Linked DNA regions of Homo sapiens: all the other regions are linked to region 1. Evidence: promoter capture Hi-C in 16 types of primary human blood cells and fetal thymus (Javierre and others, 2016). All regions are on one chromosome and are shown on one strand. Each heading gives the region's core, a stretch centred on a gene start or on the middle of the fragment in contact. The rest is flanking DNA. Distances are from core to core; before and after follow the strand shown.

Evidence for each region. The method cuts DNA at HindIII sites, captures the fragments that hold promoters and counts their contacts. A CHiCAGO score of 5 or more calls a contact.
Region 2: a fragment that was not itself captured here is called in contact with the fragment with the promoter of KCNRG in region 1 in 3 of 17 cell types (total B cells, naive B cells and naive CD4 T cells); the score reaches 8.7 in total B cells.
Region 3: a fragment that was not itself captured here is called in contact with the fragment with the promoter of KCNRG in region 1 in 1 of 17 cell types (naive B cells); the score reaches 5.2 in naive B cells.
Region 4: a contact is called between a fragment that was not itself captured here and the fragment with the promoter of KCNRG in region 1, in 1 of 17 cell types (naive B cells). The highest score is 5.1, in naive B cells.
Region 5: a contact is called between a fragment that was not itself captured here and the fragment with the promoter of KCNRG in region 1, in 1 of 17 cell types (total B cells). The highest score is 6.2, in total B cells.
Region 6: a fragment that was not itself captured here is called in contact with the fragment with the promoter of KCNRG in region 1 in 2 of 17 cell types (total CD8 T cells and megakaryocytes); the score reaches 5.3 in total CD8 T cells.

The regions. Positions count from the first base shown.
Region 1 is chr13:50,013,451-50,017,077 of GRCh38, reverse strand. It overlaps KCNRG (potassium channel regulator), which reads right to left and starts at 1,634. Exons shown (of 2, transcript NM_173605.2): 1 at 1,007-1,634. The coding sequence starts at 1,584. TRIM13 (tripartite motif containing 13) reads right to left here. Exons shown (of 2, transcript NM_213590.3): 2 at 1-3,627. The region is part of intron 10 of DLEU2 (deleted in lymphocytic leukemia 2); the gene reads left to right. The HindIII fragment of the contact is 12,687 bases long and covers 1,226-3,627 here.
Region 2 is chr13:50,775,308-50,778,934 of GRCh38, reverse strand. It overlaps a transcript of DLEU7 not described here. Among named protein-coding and RNA genes, the nearest start is that of DLEU7-AS1, 31 kb to the left of the region's middle. The HindIII fragment of the contact is 3,595 bases long and covers 49-3,627 here.
Region 3 is chr13:50,737,668-50,741,294 of GRCh38, reverse strand. It overlaps a transcript of DLEU7 not described here. Among named protein-coding and RNA genes, the nearest start is that of DLEU7-AS1, 68 kb to the left of the region's middle. The HindIII fragment of the contact is 1,040 bases long and covers 1,407-2,446 here.
Region 4 is chr13:50,634,769-50,638,395 of GRCh38, reverse strand. No RefSeq gene overlaps it. Among named protein-coding and RNA genes, the nearest start is that of DLEU1-AS1, 110 kb to the right of the region's middle. RefSeq lists enhancers at 2,029-2,323, 2,720-2,919 and a silencer at 2,029-2,323. The HindIII fragment of the contact is 917 bases long and covers 1,506-2,422 here.
Region 5 is chr13:50,592,780-50,596,406 of GRCh38, reverse strand. No RefSeq gene overlaps it. Among named protein-coding and RNA genes, the nearest start is that of DLEU1-AS1, 67 kb to the right of the region's middle. RefSeq lists an enhancer at 1,431-1,630 and a silencer at 1,731-1,930. The HindIII fragment of the contact is 2,529 bases long and covers 612-3,140 here.
Region 6 is chr13:50,528,608-50,532,234 of GRCh38, reverse strand. It overlaps DLEU1 (deleted in lymphocytic leukemia 1), which reads right to left. Exons shown (of 7, transcript NR_109974.1): 7 at 3,592-3,627. Among named protein-coding and RNA genes, the nearest start is that of DLEU1-AS1, 3.0 kb to the right of the region's middle. RefSeq lists enhancers at 1,886-2,574, 2,575-3,263, 2,204-3,403. The HindIII fragment of the contact is 1,070 bases long and covers 1,448-2,517 here.

The DNA.
Region 1 (3,627 bases), core at 385-2,884:
ATTTCAAACTCTTTTGAAGGACAGGAAGTTATAAAATGTAAACAATTAAGAATTGTCATACTCGGTTATTCTACCTAGTGTCCTCCAGTTGGTAAGCAAGACCAAGGAGTGTGTCGCTAAGAGAGAGAGACACTGGTATCCTTCCTGTTGGCTACTGCTCAAGTTAAGAAAATATCTTAAAATACGCCTACCTTTACCAAAAAAAAAAAAAAAAGTATATTTTAAATGATACCAATAAAGAACACATGCAGGCTTTTCTTTTCCTCCTAAAAATTAAAGCCAGCTTTCACAGTTGGTAAAATAATGGTAGGACAGCATTAAGACATTTTACGGGGGGAAAAATGTTTGTGACAGCAGAGTGGAAATCAGCGTTAGGATCCAGCCAAGAACAACAGAGGGAGTAAGTGAAGAATTGACTCAGGAGCAACTATCCTTAACATACTGACAGCCTATCCCAATATTTTGAGTTGTTTAAGAGCCAAGGCTGTAACAGGATACCAAATTTGCCATGAGATATATCTGTCTTTAAGGGTGTTTAAAAATAAAGTCAGCTGAAGGAAAAACAGTAGTTGAATCATAAAACTGAAAGAACAACTTATATAGTGTGTAAGGAACTCAAGAGAAACCAGTGAGCGAGCCTTTATGTGAACCACTGAAACAATCTCTTAAAAATAAGGCAATTCTTTTCTAAGTCAAATTCATTAGCAATGGAACATAATCTACAAAATTATTTTCTCCCATGATTTGAATGTCCATAGTCTCAGTTTTTTCTGGGCAGTCTTCATTTATTCCTTTTGTCCCACCTAATAATAGCCCCTTTCACTCTAAAAAGTATCCCAGTTTGGAAAATAATTATTTGGTCATTCTACCCAACTCCACTGGTTACCCCAAAACATTATTTTGAATAATCATCTTTTCCAGAAGTTACAGGCCTGAGGAACTTCAAGTTTTTAGAGAAAACATCACAAACTGGTATACAAGAGAAATACTGCAAAGTACAAAATACCTGACTCCAGTTTGGTTATCAGTAGTGCTGTCAGAACCACACTGGAAAACCAGGTCATGGTAAGAAGGTCTTTGTGGAGGCAGTGGAAGTAAGGTCATCTGAGGAGGGAAAAAGTTACCATTCCAGGTCGGCGCTGAAGGTTGTTCTGTAAACACTGTAATCCTCCCTGTTAGCATCTCAATTGTTTTGCTGCAAGAGCCAAACACCCTGAAAAAAGCTTGAGTGTTCCGGCTTAGGAAATGTACCTCCACAAGAGCAGGTCTTGGCTGTAGCAGGTATGGGTTTAAGAGATCAACTAGAGAACGAAGTTCATAGAAAAGAGCCTCTCTCTGAAGCCTAAGATAGTCTGAAAATTCAGTGGGTAATAAAAGCTGGTGAGTTCTCAAAAAATCTAAGATGAAACTAAACAAATCACCATCTCTGTCTACAAAAATCTGGCCACCAACCATCTTGAATTCTTGGTCTCTGCCATCTAACATGCGTGCCAAACGAGAAGCAGGAAACTGCTTTATCGTAGAAAACCTTGTCGTGAATATCTTCCCTCCCACATTCAAAGTGACCAGTTCCTGACTACTCATTCTTCCCTCACTTCAAACTAGAGGCTACCATCAGCCACACTTAGGAAATCAACCTATAACCATAAATGTTGCTAGTTATACATGATTATGCAGTGGAGGGGAGGGAAGAATAACAAAAACCAGACTTAGATTCCCAGGAAACTACTGTAAGGTAAATAGTGTATCCATGGCTGTGTTTGCAAATTCGAGTTGCCTGGGAACTTGCAGTATACAAAATGAAAAAGCAACAGATGAGGAACTAAATAGCTTAAGGAAAACTGCCAATATATCTGAAGATAGACATCAAATAGATCCCTTTCCTGTCTTACATTTAAAAACTTATCCATGAAAACCTAGTAAAACTATATATATATATATATATATATATATATATATATATATATATATATATATATATATTTTTTTTTTTTTTTTTTTTATTACTGGGAGGGGAAAAGCATTCTCCCTCCCCATACCTGTCTACCACGCAGAGGCTAGACTTAAACGTTTTTCTTAATTTCTTATGATCTCCTTAGAAATTTAGTGGCTAAATCATGAATTACATGTTAGGAATGAGACAGCCTGGCAAGCTCAATTTGACTATTCTCATAGCTAGAAGGAAATCATTTCTTCTGTGCTTTAAATTTAGTTGCCACCTTTTATCCTGTCCCCATTTTCATTACCTCCTCTCAACCAAATTAGAGGAGGACTGAGGTAAAGAACTCTTATTTTCAGAAAGTCTATTCCACTTAATGGGCTTTCAAGGAATATCTTACTCTATGACACAAATAAGGCAGACTAGAGAGCAGTTATAAGGTTACTTCTTTGTTATATGAATTCTAAGCAAGGTGTTTATTCCATGAGAGGGTATCTTTATCTCTTGTGAGCAGACAGAACAGCATTAGTGTTCAGCTGATTACTTTGTAATAGCTGACAGACTGTTTTATCTGTTGTCAAATTAGTCTTAACTACACTAAACATTCTTTCTGTAAGCAAGTGGATTGGTTTGGTTGTACACTTGCCATCTTTCGAACAAAACAACACATAGCTGCCAGAAAAAAGGTAGTCTTCCCATTTCCTGCTCTTGCCATGTGTTCTATATATACATATATATGTATATATATGTATGTGTACATATGTGTGTGTGTGTGTGTATATATATATATATATTTTTTTTTTTTTTTTTTTTTTTTTTTTTTTTGGTAGAGACTGGGTCTTGCTATGTTTACGAAGCTGGTTTCGAACTGGAACTCCTAGCCTCAAATAATCCTCCCACATCACTGTCCTAGAATGCTGAGATTATAGACATGAGCCACCCTGCCCAGCCAGCTGATCCTTTTTTTTAACCTATCTATGCTTTTGCTTGCATAGCCACTTAACATTTCTAGTTGATCATCTTTGGTGAAAACTACAAAAACAAAGGAGAAAAGGGCAGATTGAAAGCTCCACTCTCCTAAAAATGTAAACTTATCACAAGAAAATGCCAGGTTTTGTATGTACCATTCACATTTTGGTGATAATTAACTCTCTGTAGAAAATTTTGGAAATCTAATTAATTAGTACCTTCAATACCTTTAGTTGTCTCCCACACACGCGTGTGTGTGTGAAATCTTCTACAATATCTTCCCTTTTTTAGACCATGTTCACTGTCAAAAAGGTGCTTTAAGAGCAGTCTTTGGCTGGGCACGGTGGCTCACACCTGTAATCCCAGCACTTTGGGAGGCCGAGGCAGGCGGATCACGAGGTCAGGAGATCAAGACCATCTTGGCTAACAGGATGGTCTTAAGGGACAGTGAAACCCTGTCTCAACTAAAAATACAAAAAATTAGCTGGGCGTGGTGGCACGCGCCTGTAATCCCAGCTACTCAGGAGGCTAAGGCAGGATAATCACTTGAACCTGGGAGGTAGAGGCTGCAGTGAGCCAAGATTGCATCACTGCACTCCAGCCTGGGCGACAGAGCAAGACTCCATCTCAAAAAAAAAAAAAAAAAAAAAAGTGATCTTTACTGCATGCTTGAAGAACAATCACTACTATACTACCTATACTTCCATCAATACAATATT
Region 2 (3,627 bases), core at 597-3,096, 760 kb before region 1:
ATTCCACAATGCAAAAAGATAGAAAATTAAGTGCTACATTTTGAAGCTTAACATAGCTAACTTATTAAACACATAAATCAAAAGCAATTTTTTCCATTATTTAAGATTTCTTTATTTAAATTCACGGCTCATAGGCCAAATCAGCTTTATCTAAATTGAGTTCATGGACATGTTTTATTTTGCCCAGACAGGGTTTTGTTTAAAGGGAATCAGTGGACATTTGGAAAACTAGGAAATTTGACCTTCAAAGTTAAAAGAGCTGGCACTATGTGTGGAGATCATAATGCTATTCTCTGATACAAAGAATGTTTTTCTTTTTGTCTTTTGATCCCTAAAATTATTCTTCACAAAAAGACAACAGCCAACAGCTATCTGGTTCATTTTTATTTTTAAGTTCCCCAAATGTAAACATGTCCAGTAGTTCATGAGATGAATAGAAGAGCACCCACCTGATTTCTCATAGCTATGGGATGGAAAGAAGAAGGAGGAAGCAGCAGATGGAGGAAGTCAGAGATGGAGATTGAGAGTCTGGGTTTTAATCTGGTTTGGCTGTGTCCCTACCAAAATCTCACGTCAAATCGTAATCCCCACATGTCAGGGAAGGGACCTGGTAGGAGGTAACTAGATCATGAGGGTGGTTTGCCCTGTGCTGTTTTTGTGATAGTGAATGAGTTCTCACCAGATATGATGGTTAAAACTGTGTGCCAGTTCCCCCTTTGCTCTCTCTCTCCCCTGCTACCACGAGAAGACATACCTTGCTTCCCCTTCACTTTCTGCTATGATTGTATAAGTTTCCTGAGACCCCCAAGTCATGCTTCCTGTTAAGGCTGCAGAACTATGAATCAATTAAACCTCTTTTCTTCATAAACTACCCAGTCTCAGGTAGTTCCTTGTAGCAGTGTGAAAATGGACTAATCCAGGTTTGTCACTTGATCTTCCTGAGAGTGAGATATCCAGATGGTAAGAGATAGGTCTGGAAATGGAATGCATTCTGATGCCCACTGCGGTGTTCTGCTTACTTTATCATGCCCCTCCTAATGAAATATAAAGTTAGATATTTCTTAATACAGGGGAGGAAAAAGGTTAGAAAGGTGAGGGCAGGTTTATGGAAAGATGAAATTTACATAAACTAAAGCTCTCTCCTTACCTAGAACTTTGTGACATCTCAACGCTTCTTAGGGACATCTTTGATCTAATCCTGTTAAATGATGAGAGAAAGATATTACTTTAAACAATGGATTGTGGGAATGAACAAAAAAGGCTTCCCAAAAGAAGAAATTCTTCATGTAATGCCATGCATAAAAATGTGATAGAGTCTTATATTAGTGTTCTCTAAAGGGACAGAACTAATAGGATATATACATGGGTTTATTAAGGAGTATTAAACTCACATGATCACAAGGTTCCACAACAGGCTGTCTACAAGCTGAGGAGCAAGGAAGCCAGTCCGAGTCCCAAAGCTGAAGAACTCGAGGTCTGATGTTCAAGGGCAGGAAGCATACAGCATAGGAAAAAGATGTAGGTTGGGAGGCTAAGCCAGTCTAGCCTTTTCACGTTTTTCTGCCTGCTTTATCCGGGCCATGCTGGCAGCTGATTAGATGGTGCCCACCCAGATTAAGGGTGGGTCTGCCTTTCCCAGCCCACTGACTCAAATGTTAATCTCCTTTGGCAGCACCCTCACAGACACACCCAGGATCAATATTTTGCATCCTTCAATCCGATCAAGTTGACACTCAGTATTAACTGTGACAAGTCTATTAGTTCAGTGATTAGAAACTTAAATACTTTCCGTAGCCAGGAAAGTAAAGCAGGTTAGTTGTAAGTCTGTAGGGTGCTGTAGTGGCCATGGGAAGCTCTGGAGCATTTATCCCTTTTCAAAGGGGGAAGCCACTACTAAGTTCCAGCTTACTGGTGCCATGGGAGAATGTGGCCTAATATCACCCAAGATTCAACATTTTCAAGAGAAGATGGAAATCTGGATTTTCATGTGAAATGTTCAGCTTAAAAAACAAACAAACAAACAAGCAAAACCTATAAGCCACCAATAAGTAGTCTCTGTTTAAAACCATTATTTGATTAGGCTGCTTACAAACAAATGTAGAAACAGGATTTCTATTCCAGAACATGGCAAAAAAGATAATAGAAACCCTCCCTTAATAACAGATCTAGTAACTATAGATGAGATATGAAAATCAACATTTTAAATGTTTAGCCAAACTCTTTAAAGAGTGAGATAAAGCCCTGAAGTGGTGACCCTATGAGCTGATGGTATGCCTTTCCTGGATTTGGGGGTGAGGTAGTTTCCTGTCTTAGTGACCAAGAGACTTGGGTTATAATGACTATTTAGGAATAGGAATTGAGATCTGGGACCCACAAGAGGCTCACAAACCTCCTATGGAGCCATGACTCTTAAATGGTTAATCCCTTGTTAAAAGGAAGAACTATAAATAAAGCCACCCATCAATATAAGGATATGTCAGGGAATTAGCTATTTTAGCCCTGACTGTGGTTGGAAAAGAGCTCACAAAGGTGCAGGAATCCTGAAGCTAAGAAATTAGTGAAAAGTGTGCCCAGGCCAGTGACAGCACTGGGCTATCCGGCAATTCAACACAAAACCTCTTTGGAAGGCAGTACCCTTCACCAAGGACCATAGATCATTTCCACAGATAAAACTCAGCTGCAGATAAATTCAAAATCCAAAACTGAGTCAAAAACTCAAACATACAATGATACCATCTACCAAGAGTAGAAGTCAACTGACTGAATAAGTAACTTGATTTGACCCTTGAGGATATACAGGTAATACAAGTCCCAGAGAGAGATTATAAAAACAGGTATTGTAAAAATGACTAGGAGCTCAAAAAGGAATTTAAAATGTAAGAAACAAACAACATCTTCATGGGAATAAAAGGCTGATTTGAAAAAACAGATTTCCTAGAAATAAAAAACACAATTATTGAAAATAAAACTCAATTGATAGATTAAATAGTCACCAAAACAAAGCTAGAGGAAGATTTAATGCATGGAAAGATAAATGTGATGAAATTATCCCAAAGATAACAAAGGGAAAACAGATGAGAATTATAAAAAAGAGACTAATGGCAAAGTGAAAATTTGAATACTTTCCTGCCAATAGCTATTGTAAACTCTGGGAACAAACAATTCGGAGATAAACAAAAGCTAGCAGAAACTGGTGGGGATTTGACCCTTACTGAGTGAAATTCACATTTATATGTTTTTTTCCACTAAAGTTACTTCCCAGTCCATCTACGTGTAGCCCACAGAGCTGAAGCAGAAAGTGGTAGTCTTATGAGACTGAGGAATCAGAATATGGAGTTTGGGACTATATAGAAATTTCCCTCAAATAATTGGCCGATTCCTAGTCTACACATGCACAGGATGAGACTCCAAGAAACTCAAGAGAAAACAAAAGCTAGAAAGCTGTTGCGGAGATTTCAGTAGCTGCCCAATGCAGGCAGACAGTTTGGAATTCAAGTCCTGATAAGTTAGACAGACTTGAAAAATGCCTCAAACTATTAAAATTAAAACCCAGAACTTATACCTTAAGGCTCAGGACTAGGGATTCATCCTAGGCTAGTTGCAAAACTAAAATAAAACCATTCTAAC
Region 3 (3,627 bases), core at 677-3,176, 720 kb before region 1:
TGGCATTTGAGGAGGAGGATTAGGCATACATCTTCAGGGAATAATTTAGGGGAACTGAGAAGGCCCTTCTCCCCTGCTGCTTCTTCCAAATAACTTTCTAACTCTTCTAATTGGAAAACAAAATAATTCTACAAGTAGAAATGCATCCCTTCTGTTTGGAGCATTGTTCCTAATACAGTAGAAATACGTTGAGAAGAGAAGATTGTTTAGATGTTAGCTTTCAGCTATACCTCAGCTTGGCTGACTTTATTAGATCTTCTCTGAGACAGATTTTGATGGGGAAGCAGGTGGTGGTAGGGACACAGTTGCCCACAGTGTAGAGAGGAGAGGGGCCCAGGATGAACAAGGCTGTTCCAAGTGTTTCTATGAGTTCAGGAAGAATTGAGGATGTAAGGAGGATAATGGAAAAGAAAAGTGTGGCGTACAGAAGGCTTTTCACTTATAAGCAGGAACAGTCCAAAAAGGTTGGGGGTTTCATTTACTCATAAGATCAAAGTAATACTATTAAAATAAGGGTTTTTAATAGAATGGATGCATTTTTGCTTTGGTTCATTTGTTTGCATCTGTGAAAGTTCTTAAGTTGAGAGCTTGTAAATTTATATGTTTCTATATTTGAGACTATCGCCTCATATAGGCTTCCTTTAGAACCATAGACTTCAGAGATTAGCGATAAAAAGGCTTGGGGACCTCTTTGTTCCAGGACAGCAAATAGATTTCAGCTCATGTGTAGTCTTGAGTGGAATGGTAGTGACTGCCTGGTATACTGTTTTGTGAAGTTTTCTGTAAGTGATTAGCAATGCCTGTTCTATCTGTCATGGGAGTAGGCAGAACTCCATTAGTCTAATATCCTAATTTTATGCACACCAGGAAATTGAAATTCAGGTTTAGTCACAGAGAAACTTCAGAAAAGATTAAAAGAAATAAGCCTATGGTTTGTAAGTCTTTGTGTGGACATGGATTTAAATTGACTTGATTTTCTTATTAGGAAAGTTGCCCACAGGATTCCAGATGTTGAAAGAATGGTTTACTGTTACACTATTATGGTTTGAGGTTGTTGTGCATACCGTTTCAGTTTTCATCCTTTTCCCATTTGCCCATCATCAGGATGGAATGTACCAAGGGATCAATAAATAGAAGCCTAAATACTGCAGGAAAAAAATGTGTAAGCACCTTTTTGGAATAAAGCTTTTCAAACATTTTCAGGCTTAAAAGAACTTGAAACATTTAAATTCCTGTCAGGACTAAGGAAATGGAGCAGAAATCAATGAACTAGTGTGTGGTCTCGACAACAAGGCAGGGATCAACTCTCTACACATTCTCTCTCTATATGCCCTACCATTCATTAACCCATTTCTGATTTAATAAAAAAAAAATCTAGGCATCTAGAATCATTTCTTTGGGAAGCTTTACATGCCCCCAACAGGGAGTCTAGTGTCATTATGTATCTAAGCATTTGGCCAAAAGGGACTAGGTAGGGTTGGACTGTGCTGATAAGAAAGTGAGAATTCTCAGGGATCTGGCCACATCCCAGTTTTGGTCTCTTTGGTGTTGTGAGATGTAGCAGAAAAAGAACATTCCCTAGAAACTTTAATTAGAGATATGGCTGGTGAGAGAATTTTTGCAGATTCTCTCTCGTTCCTCTAATCCACCTATTTTTTACAAAAGGTAGTTCATATCTGGTCCCCTCCAGGATAAGCACAAAAGCCTCTTGAGAGTTAAAAAATCAGTCTCAGAAAGTACCTAACACCCATGTCTCTGTTTCTCTTCTCATTCCTTCCCCGTCTGGGTTTTGGCTCAAGGTTTGCCTGTCTCCAGATGGCATTTGCCTTCATCTCCATTCATAACTGAGTGTTAAAGGCCTGCCCTTTGTTCATTCATGGATTCACCTACTAGGCCATGAAGGTCTATTCAGTCAACAAACATTTATTGAATGCCTACTGGGTTACTGTTGGAAACAAGTCAAATTTGGTTCCAGATGATGCAGATCTTCTAATCTGGACCACAATGAAATTTACACAGAAGTGGTATAGTAACAGTTGTGTTCTGTGTCCCAAAGAAGAAAAAAAGGGAAGCAACCCAGCCTGAGAGGTCCGAGAAGAATTTACTGAGAAAGCAGTCTTGTATCTAACTGCTGAAGAATGAGTAGGATTGAGCTAGGTGGGAGGAGAGGAGGAAATAAAGGAAGAGCATTCCTGGTAGGGTAGGTCCCTGGTAAAGCCGCAAGGCAGGAAAGAACATGATAAGAAGAACAGAAATCAGGCCAGTGTGGCCAGTGTTTGTGTGTGTGTGCGTGTGTGTGTGTGTGTGTGTGTGTGTGTGTGTGTGTGTGTGTATTATTTTTTAGAGGCTGCTCACTGGGAGATGTCCAGAATGAGGATAGAGAGGTAGAAAGGGACCAGATCACCTAAGAACTTGTAGATCATGTTAAGAATTTTCAGCTTAAGCTTATGAACATCGCATGAGTTTAAGTAGCCAACACAGTACACCTCAGATACTATCTCTTTCAAGAAACTTTCCCCCATTTTCTTCCAGCATGTTATTTGAAAATACATGATATTCATCTTGTATCACAAATATATAAGTATGGATCTGTCTCCACTATACTATGATCTCATTGTAGGCAAGATTTGTATCTTTTTCATCTTTGTATGATTTGCTGTGTAGGTAGCAGGGTAATGTGGAAAGAGTTTGTTGGCATGGGAAGAACTTTGGAATCAGGCAGGTTCTTGTCATTACACTTTTTCCAATTCCATGACACTAATCATGTACCAAAAGCAGTAGGAGGGCCTACCCTGGGTGCAGGCAATAAGATGTGCATTGCCATTGAGAATTTAAAAACAAGAATAAGTCTGACTGAACGTTGGTCTGCTTTTTATTATCACCATGTACTGGCAATTCTAAACAATGTCAGTGATAAAATACTCCTCTCCCAAAAAATATCTTGTGAGTCTAGGTTTGAAACAATGGCAGTGGTTACTGCTGAGGTTTTTTTCCCAATGTTTTATTATGAAAAATTTCAGACATATAGAAAAGTTGAAATAATTTTATGTTAAGAACTCACCATCTAAATTCTACCATTAACATGTTATACTGCTTCATCTATTAAACTTCATAAACCAACCTCTGCTAGTTCCAAGCATTTCTTCTGCAGCTTTCTTAGCCTTTACAGAATTGAAAAGAGTCAGGGTCTTGCTCTGAGTTAGGCTTTGGCTTAAGGGAATGTTGTGGATGGTTTGATTTACTATCCAGACCATTCAAACTTCCTCCATATCAGCAATAAGCAATCACTTTCTTATCATTCGTGTGTTTACTGGAGTAACACTTTTAAATTGCTTCAGGAATTTTTTTCTTTGCATTCACATCTTGGTTTACAGTTTGGTGCAACTGTAGCTTTTGGCCCATCTTGGGTTTTTACAGGCCTTGCTCACTAAGTTTAATCATGGCTAGCTTTTACTTTAAAGCAAGAGACATCAATTTAAAGGAAGAGAGACATTTTCCTTTCACCTGTACACTTAGAGGCCACTGTAGGGTTACTAATTGGCTTTACTGCAATATTGTTGTGTCTCAGGGAATTAGAGGCCCAAGGAAAGGGAGAGAGATGGGGAATGGCTAGTTGGTGTGGCAGTC
Region 4 (3,627 bases), core at 715-3,214, 620 kb before region 1:
AAGAAAATCTTAAACTGTTTTCAGAAATCATAGTGTTGGTAGTAGTTTTGGTATTGTTATTCTAAAACTGTTTCAGAGACATGGTAAGATAGAAAAAATGGGTGGGTAATTATATGATATTCTAATTCCATCAATCCCACTGTCATAGAAAACTTAGATACTTAGCACAGAGAAAGGAGATATAGATGGAAGATAAAAAAAATAAGACTCTACAGAACTAAATTTGCACTGGAAGTCTCAATATGAACTCTCAATATATTTCATGCTAAAAAAAATCCCAAGAAACAATGAACAACCTAGTAACAATGAATGCTCCCAGTTTCTAGACTGTGGCCCACATACCATTTTTCAGTAAAAGAAACCAAGATTCTCAAGAGAAATATGATTCTAGATCTGAAATACACAAGATGAATCAAATGATTCAAAAGCCAACTCAAATAGGCTCCCACTGGCCAAAGATGTGACATTTATGCATTCAAAAGAACAAAGACGGCCGGGCGCAGTGGCTCACGCCTGTAATCCCAGCACTTTGGGAGGCCGAGGTGGGTGGATCACGAGGTCAGGAGATCGAGATCATCCTGGCTAACACAGTGAAACCCCGTCTCTACTAAAAATACAAAAAAATTAGCCTGGCGTGGTGGCGGGTGCCTGTGGTCCCAGCTATTCGGGAGGCTGAGGCAGGAGAATGGCGTGAACCTGGCAGGCGGAGCTTGCAGTGAGCCGAGATCATGCCACTGCACTCCAGCCTGGGCAACAGAGCAAGACTCCATCTCAAAAAAAAAAAAAAAATAGCACAAAGACTGCAATTAGCTAAAAGATGCAAAATATATTTAAATTCATGACTTCATAATTTTTTTAAAAAAACTCAGTAGTTATCTTCAAATATTTTTCATTATTGAAAACAGACAAATTAAGGGAGAGAATCAAGCACCTATCCTGTCTTCCCCATTAGAAACAGCTCTGAATAACATAACGGTCAATCAGGGAAAGTTTCTCTTTATAGAAGTTATTATTCTGGCTAATAAATGAAGAAGTAACATAGACTAACACCATTTAAAAAATCCCTAATGAATTAACAGAGAACCATATTAATTAATGCCACAAGGATACAATTGACAAAATCCAAACTGTGGGAAACCTTGGCTTATTCAACAGATAAATTGAAAGGACTACATAACAAGAGGTGGAAATAGAACTTATTAATTAATAAAGACTTAGGAACATATCCACTAGTCACAAGATTTCCAGTGATCTCACAAATATAATTTTTAAAGTTTGGTTTATTTGAATCCCGTTTCAAAGAAACTGAACTTTAAAAATTGTATTTATGAGACCACTGGAAATTTGAATACCGAGTTCTCTAATCAGCAGAAACAGATCTAATCAGCAGAAATGGATACTGAAGATTATTCTGAAAATACAGCCCATAAGGAGTTTGCAGAAATCCTTGGGAGGGTAATAGACTTCCCATGATCTATGGGAGGGCTATTGCAGTTCCAAAAGCTTATGTCTAGGTCCTTCCACCCCATAAGCCCTAATACATGCATTAATCACCCTTTTTCACCCTAAGTGACCAAATAACTGATCTGAGGAAGCACCCAGGAGGCTTGGGATATACTCCTGATTGTCATTAGTTACCACATGACTTACGACCGGCACTCAATTTATTTGGTCCTCAGTTACCACATTGGTACAATGAGAATAGCTTCAGGTTCTAAACATGACAATGATTCTATTCTAACTCGTGGTGTTGTGAATTGGTGCAAGGGGTGGGTAACCAGCAGCGAGCAGACTGAAACTCACAAATAGGTCCGCAGGTGATGTGTCCTTTCTTGTGTTGGCATCCCCAGAGAGGCGGACTATGGCCAGAGCAGCGACAAACACACTGAGGGGCCTTGCGGCAAGGGAGACATCCCACTTCCTGTTGTTTTCCATCGTTATAGGAGTGGGGTCTGTCTCTGAATTACAGCCTCTTGGTGTGAGAGCAGTCTGAGAAAATCAATATTTTGGGCTCAGCTACTAAGCTGCCTGAGCTTAGGTTCTAGCTGTTTAGGGGATTGCTAGGAAATGCCAGAGGCTCAGCACCTGGAGGCTTTAGGGGTCCTAAACCTGTGGGAAGTTAGTTTGAGACAGCCACTCCCACTGGAGAAAGGAATGTCCCTGGTCCTATGAGAACTTGTAGCCTCTCCTAGGAGAGGTGGGGCTTTCAGGCTACCTTGGTTGCCAGGCAACCCAGAGAAAGCTCTCAGGCCAGGGTAATTTACATACTCATTCTGCTTGTCTCCACAATTAGGTATCTATGTGGGTAATTTACTTAAACAAAGTTTGACATTTATTCATATTGTTACCAAGCAAAAGGCCTTGCTGCCTGAAGTGCTAGAAACCAATACTATGACACTGGGGTTTTGAGAAAATAAAAGCTTTTTATTGTAGGTCGACCAACAAGGGGACAGAAGTTCAGCTCAAATCTGTCTCCTTGTGCTGACTTTAAGGCAGTATTTTTATTAGAAAAGGGTTAGGGGTGGATTCTGAGATTAACTGGTGATTGGTGGAAGGAAAGGGGAGATCCAGAAAATCCTTGGCACACACAGTTATCTCTGCACGCTTCCTCATGGGTCACATGTTGCAAATTTGGGGGAAGTTAGTGTGAAACATGCAGTGGAAATTTGGGTTGTGACATCAGCAAGCTCGTTCTGCACTGACTCCATTTGGCCATATTGGTTCCAACTGATTTCAGCTAGGTTTGTTATGTTGCAAGCAGAGGGAGTTTCCGCATTTCAGCAAGTTTTTTCTTTTCTTATCTAGTCACTGGTTTCTTTAACTGTTTGGGTCACAGTTTCAATAATACAAAATGTCTTGAGTTTCTAGCATGAGAGAGGAACAAGAGACACAGCAATGAAGAGGCCAGATGGCTCATGGAATTTTCATTCTAGACTATGACATCTCCAAAGTGTCTATAATTTTCTATTCATTTCCCTATGTTTGCTGTAATGCTTTGCCCTAAAGATACAAAAGGGTATGGATTCTTCACTGCATTTTCTCTTATCTCTATCTCTCTGTAACATTTCTTCTTCTGTAAAGGGAACAGATTGGAATTGACAGACTCTAAGGATCTTTTCAGGGCAGAAGTCTTGTTATATGAACGTTACGGTAATTAAAAAGACACCTGGGAAAGAGTCATATGAAAACTGAACTCAGAAGGAGAGCCCTAGGTGGAGGACAATGGGGAACTGGAATTTCTTTGCCCTGATTTCAGAAGCTTCCAGTTGTTTCTGAGATAGCTCTTGAAAAATTGCTGTTAACCTGGTACTCTCTAGTCATAAACATGCTCAGACTTAGGAAGTAGAGTCACAGATGAGGTTCCACAAAATTATAGCGATGCGGGATAGGATACAGGCATGTCAAGACAATGTGACTTTGAAAAGATGATAAGGCCTTTAAGGCCTGGAAGCACCTGATGTGACCAGATCAGAAGGTAATCTTTGGAAATTGAATCCTATCTTATATATCTGTGTTTCTCCCCCATTGATTTTCCTTGAGAATTAATTAAATTCTGAGAGTGCTCTCAGCCTATCACAGCTATGCTAAAGGGAGCCAATGATATTATTCCTACTCAGATTAACTGGG
Region 5 (3,627 bases), core at 627-3,126, 580 kb before region 1:
GCACTTTACCTCTGCAGGTGGAGGCTCCCAGCAAGGCTCTGCTGAGGGCACTGCTGTGGCTCCCCTGCTCACACTTGGGGTCCTGTGGCTGAGTCTAGCCTTTCTTCCTCCTGCACACTGCCTGCCCCATCGCTTTGACAGAGGGGAGCCCCTCAAGTGCATCTTTGGAGGGGACAAGACACTGCTTGATATCCTGAAACATAAAGAGGCAGCATGCATCACTCAGCCACATAGCCCACATGTCACTTCTATCAGTGAAGCCTTTCAGTTTCCACCCTTGTGCTCCTGGCAAATGTGATGGCCCCGATGGCTCTTTGCTCAGTGTGATGGCCCCAGGCACCCTTTGCTCATCTTATGTTCACTTAAGTGGCTGACTGTCCCACGAGTAGAAGCCGGGAGCAGGAGCCACAGTATCTCAGTGATCTTTGTGTCCTCCACCTCTTACCTAGAACATAAGAGGTCCTCGGTAAGTTTATCAAATGACTCCCTGAACAAATGCACATTAGGGAATGTAAATCTTCTTTTCAGATACTGCTCTTGTCTCATCCACCAGTTGCCTTTAAGCAAGTCATTGGTTTTCAATTTGTGTGTGTGTGTGTGAACAAAAAGCTTCTTCACACCAAGTCTTACTTGGAAGACCCTGGCCCCCCAATATATAACATGATAATAGTGAAGTTCATCTTGTTCACATAAAATGGGGAGGCCGTGGGAGCCTCAGTACCACCCACTTGCCATCCCCTCAGCTAAAATCCTCCACATATATAAGTTCTTTTACTTTTCTCTGACTCAAGCCAAATCTTTCTCCCCTCGTGGCAGCTTCTCTCTGATCATCCCAGCCACGGGGGCCCTGCCCGTTTCTGAACTCCTAGGAGTCCTACTGTGTACTCTTGTAACATATACAGAGTTTGTACCAATGAACACTCACATTCACTAAGTCTTGCTGAAGGCCAAGTCCAGTGACATGCACTTTACATACTTATCTCATTTAATCCTCAGGGCAATCCTAGGAGGTATATACTCTCACTATCTCCACTTTACTCATGAGAAAATAGAGGCTCAGAGAGGTTAAGCAATTTGCCAGGGTCATATAGCTATGAACTAGCAGCACTAGGATTTAAACCCCGAGCTAACCCATTTACTGTTTCTACTTTTGATGTGCCATTATTTGATCTTTTCAAGTATATTGTGAACTGAATTGTAGAAACTGCATCTCTACTTCTTTCTCTTGTTGCCCGATTTTTAATACAATGCCTTTAGCAAGAGTATAATTAATAATTTCAGATTAACAAATTCCCCAAAGTATATTGTATCTTTCCTCACTTCTGCCTCCTCTAACATCTGTCTGGCTAGAGGCTGTCAGCTGCTGCATTGGCTATGGTCTCACTTTCTTTCTTCCCCGAAGAAAATTGTCTTTCTGAAGCCTGCAAAGGAAGTCTCCACTGCTGAAAATATTAAGCACTTTCTCCAAAGGCTGGAAGCTAAGCAGGAGTTTCACAGGAGGGAAAAAACAACAGTGACCCCCTCAAATGGAGAGGGGAGGCTCAAGACAGGAAATCGAAGGTAAGGTCAGAGCAGCTCCAGGGAGCAGGGAGATGGACTGAAAGTGAGACTATTTAGATTTTTACCATTTGGGACTCTCCCTGCAGTTTAACTTGACTACATTTTAAAAACAGCCAAGTAGTGAAAGCCCTGCTCTCTGTGAACTCTGGCCTCTCTGCCTGTTTGGGATGTCAGAGAAAGGCTGCACTTTGTGTGAGGCAGCCCCAAGGGGCCACCCGGTGGCCTAGGTGGGGTGATTGATTGGGAGAAGTCCCAGGGGCACCGCCTTCCCGCCACTGCCTTGCACCTGCACTGCGGATAAACAGAGGCTGTGGTCTGCAGGCCCCCCCCCACCCGCCCCCGCCTGACCTACCCCCAGCCTTCGCCTCCTCTGGGCCTCACCCCATGGGGCCCTCTTACTTGAAAATTAACCACAGGCTTAAAGTGAAAAGAGAAGAGGCCTACACTGGCCCAAAGCATAGGCAAGTGAAATAGACAGCAAATAGAGCCACAATAATGCAGGCACCTCTGCACTCGAATAATGCAGGCACCTCTGCACTCGAATCTTAGAATCTGTTCCCTCTCATGAAACTCAATTCCAGTTTTTTTGGCCTTTACTACGGTATATGTCACAAGATTGCCAAAATGTCAGATGGTTAACCACCTTTCATTCTGATTGCTGATTTGAAAAGTTTAAAGTTAATTGGGGATTTCAACAGAAGTCTTCTTTATCTTAAAGTATTTGAAACATTTATCTTTTCTTTGGAAATATAATAAATAGTCTTCAATACCAATATATTTACAACATACTTAATAACTAATCAAATTTTCTCTTTAATGACCTTTGCACTATGCACATGAGCAATGTCTTTAAAAACAAAACACACGCACAGGCATGCACACCCACAGAGCAAAACATGCTTTGAAAAAGGAAAGCAAGAGACAGGGAATAGACATGGTTAGGTGACTGTGCACACGGTTGTGCTTTCTGACTGAGACAAAAAACAAAATTGTTTTTAAGATATATATATTCTATTATTGTACTATGCACTAATGAAAGTTGCTATTGTTATAGATAGATACAAAAACTTAACACAAAACCCTTAGTAAGTGCTGAATTTAAAATGTTCAATGTTGCCTATCAATTTCCTGAGTCTCCTAAGACCTAAATCATATGGATAGCTTTTTGCCCTGCATCCTTTACTTCTTTCTCTTTCTTTAGAAAAATCAGAATAGATTATGCCACATATGGAGTTAAAAAAACACATAGTCTGAAGGAAAGTTGTCTGCAGAGAGAGAAAACAAATAAATAAATAAGTCTACAAATAAACCCAACAGCAAAAGCCACCACAAGTAAGTTGAAAGCAAGTCAACTAGAAAAAAATTGCAGATTGTATCACAAGGGATTCATTTCCTTTATACATAAAGAACTCTGACAAATCACTAAAAAAAACTTCAACAATCCAATGTAAAAAATGAGCAAAATAAATAAACGAACAGCTCACAGAAAATGAACTGAATGTAGCCATTTAAAGTATGAAAAGATGCTTACTCCTCTCAAATGGAAAGACTGAAAAAGAAGAATGTTGGGGGAATAAGCTTATGAGGGGTGAGAAGATATAAAACCTTTACAGAGGATAATTTAGCCAAATATGTCAAAATTGCAAATGCATTTACTCTTTGACCTAGAAATCCCAATTCTAGAAATTAATCCTATGTATGTTATTTTACAGGTGTGAAGTGACATACAACATTATTTACTACCACACTGTAATAGCAAAAAGTACTTTTAGAAATCCAAATGCCAGTCAACAAGGGTCTAGTTAAATGAATTACAGTTCAGCTCCACAATTTTTTATTTGAAACCCTGGGTTTTGATGTGGTTTGCATGTCAGAATGTTTTGAAATTTAGAAAGCTCATATGGGGCATTGAACCTTATATATCAGTCCTTGTATCAGTCTAAGTCACGTTTTGCCACCAAATGAGTTTGCTATTTGGTTCACAGAGGTTTGTTTTGTTTTGTTTTTAATTTTAGGAATTACAGACAGGAGATTGTAGGCATGCACATCCATACTACAGAATACCAT
Region 6 (3,627 bases), core at 733-3,232, 510 kb before region 1:
ACGAGTCTGCTTCTAAGGTAAATAAGTGGAAAGTGGTCACAAGATAAGAACAGAGGCTATTAGGAGATGAGGAAAATCAGGAATGAGAAGTAGGAAGCCAACTCTTCATAATTTTTTAGGTGAGCAGCAGAGGGAGCCCTTGATAGCAAAGAAAATTACAAAACTAATGTTTATACTTCTGATCATAAAGTTAATACAGCCTTTTTACAGAAAATTTGAAAAAGTGCCACATAAAGGTAATAAAAACCCACTAATCATTCCACCATCCTAAGAACCACTATTAACATTTCATCGACACAAATCCTTCCAGTCTTTTTTCTGTATGTGTACATATATGCATGTACGTACATATATAGCCAAGCCCACCCACAGCTCTCCTGTACATGCAACTTTGCCGTTACATTTTTCACTTCATGTTACCTTTTATATTTTTTCTAAAGCCTTAAATATTCCTGAGAATGTGGTTTGCCATGCCTACAGATGAGCTGTCAGTAATTAAACCTATTTTTAGAATTTTTCAGTCACAAGTAACCCTGCAATAAACATCCTTATACCTAAATCCTTGTATTTCCTAAAAATATATCCGAAGTAAGGATAGATTCCTTAAGAAGGAATTATTAGGTCAAATATTGTTTACAGCTTTAAGTCTTTGAATACATACATATTGCCAACATTTCTAACCAGAAAATTTAAAAGATTGTTATACTTCCACCAGCAGTGGATGAGATTTTCCTTTATCTTGAACTTTTACCCAACTATGTAATTATCAAAGTTTTTTGAAATTTAAAATATTTGCTAATTTAATGGACAGAAATTTGTGTCTTTTAAAATTATTTTTAAATAAATAGTGAGCCTGAAATTTTTTCATGATTTATTGTCTAATTTTTTTCTGCTCGTACAAATTCCTTTTTTGTGAATATTGAAAATTTTTCTGCTTAGGATATTTATCTTCTAATCATTGACTTCGGAAGCTCTTCACATATTAACCATGTTAACCTTTGTCTTCTATTTTGCCCTTTTTTCAAGTTATTCTTTGCCTTATGTTTCTTTATCATGAGTTTTGATGTATATGTTTATAATTTTTATGTAAAAACATTCTGTTTTCTCTTTTATAGATTCTTCCTCTACCTTTTTGTTTAAAAAGTGCTTCCATACATTGAGAGTTGATAGATACTTATCATAATTTCTTTTACTCATTTGTGTTTTCATATTTTAAAATTTATTTAATTCATCCAGAATTTATTTAGGGATATGATTTGGGTCTCCTCCTTCCCTTAAAAACTGAATTAATTTCCCCAGCACTATTCACTGGCATAATCTTTCATTTCCTTCCCTAATTTGAAGTGTCTTCATCAAATACTAAATTCTTATATGTATTTGAGTGTGTTTGGGGACTCTATTCTCTTCTCTCTGTCTAGTTGTATACCAATATCATGTTATTAAAGCTTTATAACAGGTTTTTAACACCTGAAGTACAGTTTACCTTATTTGTTTATAAATCTTTCTTGGTTATTTTTATCCACAAATTATTCTAGATAAACCTTACAGTCACATTTTCATTCAAAAATATTCCAATTGGGATTTTGATTAGAATCATATTGGACCTAACCATCAATTTGAGGAACAGTGACATCATCCAATAATATAAAATATGTCTCAATTTATTCAAGCCTGATTTCATATTAACTAAAGTTTTACAACTAAATTGATAGAAGCCCTATATAAACAAACAAGTTTGTTTCCAGGTTTTATTGTTCTTATTCTTGCTTGTTTTGCTTTGTTTTTCCCCTGTTGTAAAAGAGCTCTTTTCCCTCTTTACGATTATTATCTGATTATGGATATTTTTTATATTTTGTAACCAGGTATCATAATGAAGCATTAGTTGTAATAGTTGATTTCTTAGGTTTTCCTAAATAGGTTATCCTTAAGAATTTAGAAATTCTCTACATAGTCATGACTTTGGGGTCTCAAAACCAATTCAACTTTTGGAATTACAGCTTTTATGCTTCATAAGCATAACTTCTTTTTCTAAATAAAATTGAAAATTAAGTGTGTAAAGTGACCAACTAAAAAGAACAAACAACTCTAAAACATACAGATTCCACTCCTCCACTTGGCTCTTAAAGGGTTAATTAATATTTACCATGAAGAATTTTTTTAATCTAATAAAAAAAATCAATCCAAAATATTCTTAAAGAGGCATTAATGACTCAAAATGTTATTTGGTTTTATATGGCCTCCCAAACTACAGTGTTTTTAAAAATCAGGTTTATCGAGTTATAATTTACATACAGTAGAATTCACCCTTTTCAGGCACACAGTTCTACAAATTTTTACAAGCATATACAGTCGAGTAATCACCACCTCAATCAAGACAGAATATTTCCGACACCCTGAGAAATTATCTGTGCCCCTTTGAAGTCAATCTCCTTCCTCTCACCCTCAGCCCCTGGCAATCTCTGATTTATTTCTGTCACTGGATATTCTGCATAGCTTCCAATCTATGTTTTTCAAGCTTCCAATCGGAGTCAAAGCTGGCCAGTAGCAACTAGCACAGAGTCCTCTGCTGCTCTTTTGAAACCACCTTTTCTTTGCTGACAACCAACAGATCAGTCTCCATAGTCAGCAAAGCTGAACTCCAGCTTTAGACACAGGCCAATTCCTCCCGTAAAACTTGGCCTGGCGTCAACTGGGCGGACATGCCCGGACAAGCCTGCTGGGGTAGCCGCGCCCGCAGGAGGGGAGGTCCTTACAACATGGAGCACCAGTTGCACACTGTCCCCTTTTGAGCTCTGTTCTCCTTTTTAGTTTGGAAGTCTGTGCGTATGTGTACATGTGTGTGGGTGCATGCATTGCAGAGCCCCAGTATACTTTGACATGTTTTCTGCATCTACAGTGTGAGTAATACAGTGGAGGGTAGATGAGCCAGCCCCTTCTGAGAAATACAGTAGTCCTCTTTGAACCTCTCCTCCTCCTGTCATCTGATTGCTGGATGGCGTTAGCCTGTGGTGTACTGGTGAGAGCCGGAAGGTCTGGGACTGGATCCCTCCTACTGAGTCAAAATACAACATAAAAACCTTGGGGGAGGATCTGAGGCTGAGAACCAGCTTCAGAAAATTATAAGTTGCCAAAGAAACACAATTTTAAGCATCATGTCTGAAGGAGTTAGGAAGGTTTTTCACTTTTGTCATTTCTGCTAAGGTCCTCTTTCTCCTCTGATACTTCTTTCCCCAGCTTTCTCCACATGATTTGGGCTGCTTTCCTAGTTCCCTTAAATACCGGTGTAAAGAAACCTGTCTGTGGTTTTATGTTACCCCATTGGAGTGTTGCATGTGAATATAGGGCATAAAAGGGGATAAATTGCCTAACTCAATCCACCCTCGAGGCCTGCCACATTAAAAAGATATACCACGGAACTTTCGTCTGCCCTGAAATGATTGGAAATACTGTGAGACTGCAGAGTTTAATGAAAACTCTGAGTCTCAACTTGAAGTAGATAGATAACTCTCTGATCTACTCTTGGGCCTATATATAACATTTTATATTTGTCAAGGCCGCTCAACATTCACGGTTAATAATTAGTCCTGGAAGAATATTTATAGCTTATGTTAATTCTTATCCCGGAGA